Regions from separate parts of the Homo sapiens genome. Here region 2 is linked to region 1. Evidence: promoter capture Hi-C in 16 types of primary human blood cells and fetal thymus (Javierre and others, 2016). All regions are on one chromosome and are shown on one strand. Each heading gives the region's core, a stretch centred on a gene start or on the middle of the fragment in contact. The rest is flanking DNA. Distances are from core to core; before and after follow the strand shown.

What was found. The method cuts DNA at HindIII sites, captures the fragments that hold promoters and counts their contacts. A CHiCAGO score of 5 or more calls a contact.
Region 2: a contact is called between a fragment that was not itself captured here and the fragment with the promoter of KCNN4 in region 1, in 1 of 17 cell types (activated CD4 T cells). The highest score is 5.6, in activated CD4 T cells.

What each region holds. Positions count from the first base shown.
Region 1 is chr19:43,779,557-43,782,256 of GRCh38, reverse strand. It overlaps KCNN4 (potassium calcium-activated channel subfamily N member 4), which reads left to right and starts at 1,284. Exons shown (of 9, transcript NM_002250.3): 1 at 1,284-1,554. The coding sequence starts at 1,396. RefSeq lists a silencer at 1,033-1,302 and enhancers at 1,909-2,038, 2,397-2,700. The HindIII fragment of the contact is 12,714 bases long and covers 1-2,700 here.
Region 2 is chr19:43,484,261-43,486,960 of GRCh38, reverse strand. It overlaps PHLDB3 (pleckstrin homology like domain family B member 3), which reads left to right. Exons shown (of 16, transcript NM_198850.4): 11 at 91-181; 12 at 265-352; 13 at 639-695. Among named protein-coding and RNA genes, the nearest start is that of PHLDB3, 19 kb to the left of the region's middle. The HindIII fragment of the contact is 5,698 bases long and covers 1-2,700 here.

The DNA.
Region 1 (2,700 bases), core at 35-2,534:
GTCATGTTTGGGTGTGGCTCATGGCTCAGAGGTGATGGTGTATGTTGCGTTTGTTTTTTTGTTTTTGCTTGTTTTAGAGATAGGATCTTGCTATGTTGCCCAGGCTGGTCTCAAACCCCTGGGCTCCAGCAATCCTCCCACCTCAACCTCCCAAACTGCTGGGATTACAGGCATGAGCCACTGCACCCAGCCGTATGTTGCATTTGGGCACTGGGGTCTATGAAGGTCCAACCCCATCCCCTTCCCCCAGGGCATCATCCTGGATGTTGTCCTGTGTGGCCAGAATATACCAGAATCATCTTGCTTCAGGCATGTGCTTCTTGGGTTTCTCCGTGTGTCGCTGTACCTTGTAGGTCTCTGCATGCATCCACTCAGCTTGTCCTCTGACCATACATTTGAATCGCACCACACATCAGAGCATGCTGAATCAGTGCGTGTTTTGAATCATCACTGCGAGCACTTGTGTTCGAGTCAACAGGCGCCACAATGTATGTGCAATTCTCTAGCTCTGGGTGATTGGGGGCTACTATAGGTATGTCCCTAAATGTTGTGTGTCTACACGTATTGGGTTTCGTTCCAAGGGTGTGTAGTGTTTAGGAAACTGGGACTGCACAGTGTTTGTGTCGGTGTGTGGTGTGTGGCATCAGGGCGTCACTACTTTAATATATATTGTGTGTTTGTGTAACACCTGGTGTATGTTGTGTTTGTGTGGCCACAGTTGTGCATCGTCCTATTTGTGGTGTTTGGGTGTGGCTCTTTGTGTCAGAGAAAGTTGTGACAACTTTGAGTGTAATATTTGTGCCTGTGTGTGGACGGTGTTTGGGTGGCTGTGTGTGCCACGGGATACTGCCTGCTTGCTAAGTGCTGGTGTGTGTCACACCATGTGTGTGGTGTCTGGGTGTGGCTGTGGGTTTCAGAGCTTGCTGGGAGTTGTGAGTCACTCTGTGTAGGTTGTGTTGTGTGCCCTGGTGTGTTAGTCTCCGTCTTGGGCTGTGGAGTGTCCTTCGGTGTCTGGGTGTGGTGAGTAGAGGTGTGTGTCACAAAGTACAGACCATTGTGTGTGACAAAGCCCATCGTGTGTCTGTGTGTGTCTTTATCCACGTGGATGGACGTCTCTTTCTTGCTCTGCCCCAAGACACACCCTAGCCCCTCCTTATTCTCAAAAGGGGGAGCTGGGGAGCCTCCCCCTACCCTGGGGCCTCCCCTGCCCCTCCCCGCCCTGCCTGGCCGTCACCACTCCCCAGAGGGCACAGGGCTCTGCTGTGCCTCAGAGCAAAAGTCCCAGAGCCAGCAGAGCAGGCTGACGACCTGCAAGCCACAGTGGCTGCCCTGTGCGTGCTGCGAGGTGGGGGACCCTGGGCAGGAAGCTGGCTGAGCCCCAAGACCCCGGGGGCCATGGGCGGGGATCTGGTGCTTGGCCTGGGGGCCTTGAGACGCCGAAAGCGCTTGCTGGAGCAGGAGAAGTCTCTGGCCGGCTGGGCACTGGTGCTGGCAGGAACTGGCATTGGACTCATGGTGCTGCATGCAGAGATGCTGTGGTTCGGGGGGTGCTCGGTGAGTGGGGCATGGTGGCTGGGAGCTGGGACTCCTAGGTCTGAGGGAGGAGGGGCTGGGGGTCAGGACTCTTGGGTCTGAGGGAGGGGGGGCTGGGGGTCAGGACTCCTGGGTCTGAGGGAGGAGGGGCTGAGGGTCAGGACTCCTGGGTCTGAGGGAGGAGGGACTGGGGACTTGGACTCCTGGGTCTGAGGGAGGAGGGACTGAGGGCCTGGACTCCTGGGTCTGAGGGAGGAGGGGCTGGGGGTCAGGACTCCTGGGTCTGAGGGAGGAGGGGCTGGGGTCTGGACTCCTGGGTCTGAGGGAGGAGGGGCTGGGGGTCAGGACTCCTGGATCTGAGGGAGGAGAGGTTGGGGGCCTAGACTCTTGGGTCTGAGGGAGGAGGGGCTTTGGCTGGGACTCCTGGGTGCTCCCAGGAGACAGTTGCTGGGGTCCTTCTCTGCAAAAGGAAGGGAATATTTGTTTCAGTGTTTCAGTCTTTGAAGATGTTGCCATTAGACGGCCAGAGGTCCAGGACCCCTGGAGGCCAGAGGGTGGCTGATCAGACACTCAAGCCCCCCAAGAGCCAATAAGGGGAGAGGTAGCCCCAGGTTTGGTGAAGGGAGAGTGGAGGAAAGACAAAGTTCTTCCAGTAGGCGGCAGCTCTTTGGTCCTTGTCTAACCTCTAATGTTTACCCAGTGCCTTAGATGCAAAGGACAGAAAAAACTGCCTTGGGGGTGGGGATGGGAAATGGGAAACAAACCTCTCCCCCGACCTGCCTCCCCCCACCAACCCCAACCCAGTCTCCACTGTTAACAAGCTCAATTTCTCCCCAAATCTGCATGCTGATTAGTCAGGGAAATAGTGGAGAGGTAGGCTTACAGTGGCCTGGACTCCTAGGTACCAGGAGAGGAGGGGGCTGGGTCCTGGATTCCTGAGTCTTAAGGAGAAGGGGGTTTTGATTGCTTTTGGGGAAGAGGGGCTGACTCCGAAGATGAGTGGTGAGTAGGGAAGAAAGGGGAAAGTGGGGTCAGGGCAGGTCTCAGCAGGCTCCCGTCACATTCCAGCCCTGGTCAGGCCAGTGATGGGGCAGATCAAGGACAAGGGTTGGAATAAGTGGCTTGAGGGGAGAACAGACTTGCTCAACAGGAAAGGAGGGGCTGGAG
Region 2 (2,700 bases), core at 1-2,500, 300 kb after region 1:
AGGAAACCCGCACCTATGCCTGCAGGGGAGAAGTGGATAGGCTCAGGCCAGGGTGTATCCAGCCCTGTAACCTGGTCCCCTCTACCCTAGAATCCCTGGAGGCCTCAGCTCTCCCGCCAGCAGTGGGGGACTCCGGCAGATACCCCCTCTACCAGCTGCTGAACTGTGGCCGTGGGAATAGGTGAGACATCAGAGAGAAGGTGGGGAGATGGAAGAAGAGGCCCAGCCACTGTAACCCACCCCGTCTGTGTTCCCTCCTCCTAGCTGTGGGGCCATCCATCCAGACATTGCCCACATGGAGCGGCTCCTGCAGCAGGCCATGGCGGAGAGGGAGCGGCTGCTCAAGGCCCGGGTGAGAGCCCAGGCCATCCTCTTCGGAACAGAAGACTGCCCCAGCCTCTCCTCCCTCAGACCTGGGAGACCCCCAACTCCACCTCCCTCAGACCCAGGGGTCCAGGCCCCCAGCCCCTCCACCCTCAGACCCAGGAGTCCAGGCCCCCAGCCCATCCTCCCTCATACCCAGGAGTCCAGGCCCCCAGTCCCTGTACCCTCAGAACAGAGAAGCTAGGACATTCTCCAGCCACCCTACCATCTTATGGGCTGGGATCCTCATTGAGTGCTTCATCCTGAATCCACAGGAAGGAACAAGAAGGGGCACGGAAGGTTCCTCAGGCCCTGCTGTTCCTGCCATCACGGTCAGTCCCACCCCCGCCCTCACGCCCACCTCTCCCTGCTCTGTTTCTCCCCCTGACCTATGCCCTTTCTTACATCTGACCCTTTCCTCTCCTCCAATTGAACAGAAAATTGTCCTGGGCTTGGCAAGGGAAAGGGAACTGCAGAGGACCAGTTCCTGTTCCCATGACCGGATGATGGTCATCTCCATGTGTGGCAGGTCCTCGGGTAACTTGCTCTACTCTGCCTCATTTTCCTCTTCTGTACATTGGTGACAATGTCAGCAGTCAGTACAGAAGGAGGACAAGTCCATGCTGGGACTTATTCCTGGCCTCAAGCAATCCTCCTGCCTCAGCCTCCCAGAGTACTGGGATTATAGCGTGAACCACCATGCCCAGTCCATGCTGGAACTTTTAAAAATCATTTAAAATTTTGTTTTTGGCTGGGTGCAGTGGCTCATGCCTGTAATCCCAGCACTTTGGGAGGCCAAGGCGGGTGGATCACCTGAGTTTGCGACCAGCCTGGCCAGCATGGTGAAACCCCATCTCTACTAAAAATACAAAAATTAGCCGGGCATGGTGGCACATGCCTGTAATCCCAGCTACTCGGGAGACTGAGGCATGAGAATCACTTGAACCCGCAGGTGGAGGTTGCAGTGAGCCGAGATTGTACCACTACACTCCAGCCTTGGCAATAAGAGCGAAAATCTGTCTCAAAAAAAAAAAAAAATCAAAACCAAAAAACTGTTTTTATTTTTATTTATTTAAAAAACTTTTTAGGCCGGGCGCAGTGGCTCACGCCTGTAATCCCAGCACTTTGGGAGGCTGAGGTGGGTGGATCATGAGGTCAGGAGTTCAAGACCAGCCTGGCCAAGATGGTGAAACCCCGTCTCTACTAAAAATACAAAAAATTAGCCGGGCATGGTGGCGGGCACCTGTAATCCCAGCTACTCAGGAGGCTGAGGCAGAGAATTGCTTGAACCTGGGAGGTGCAGGTTGCAGTGAGCCAAGATCACACCACTGCACTCCAGTCTTGGTGACAGACCAAGATTCTGTCTCAAAAAAAAAAACAAAAAACCTTTTTACGATAGAAATATTCAAGCATATGCATGAGAGAAGGAGTAGATTAATAGACCCCCAGGTGCCCACTGCGCAGCTTTAATCATTTTCAATATTGAATCTTGTACTTGCCAACTTTTTATTTATTTTATTTAACATTTTAATTTGTGTATGTACTAGGTATATATATTTTATTTTTATTTTTAATATTTTTCTTTTTTTCTCATAAGTCTTCTGCACTCCTATATTTTTAATGTATTTTATTTTTGTAGAGATAGAGTCTTGCTATGTTGTCCAGGCTGATCTCAAACTCCTGGCCTCAAACAATCCTCCCATGTCAGCCTCCAAGCTGCTAGAATTATAAGAATAATTCTAGGGCATTGGTGCCCAGCCACCAATTTTATTTTACTAATCCCATACCTACATCCCACTCTGCACTGAAATATTTTAAAGCAAAATATTGTATCCTTTCACTCAAACATCACTGTGTATCTCCAATAGATAGGCTTGTTTTTTGGGGGACAGAGTTTTACTCTTGTCGCCCAGGCTAGAGTGCAGTGATGTGATCTCAGCTCACTGGAACCTCTGCCTCCCTGGTTCAAGCGATTCTTCTACCTCAGCCTCCCGAGTAGCTGGGAGTACAGGTGCCCACCACCACACCCATTTATTTTTTTTGTTTGTTTTTAGTAGCGATGGGGTTTTGCCATGCTGTCCGGGCTGGTCTTGAACTCCTGACCTCAGGTGATCTGTGTGCCTTGGCCTCAAAAAGTGCTGGGATTAAAAGTGTAAGCCACTGTGCCTGGCCAATAAGTTTTTTTTTTTTTTTAACATAACAAAAATTCCATTGTCACATCTTATGAGATTATTAATTTCATTATATTGTAATATATAGTCCATATTCACATTTCTCTCATTGTCTCCAAAATATGTTTTTAAAAATTTATTTATTATTTTTCTTTTCCTTTTTTTT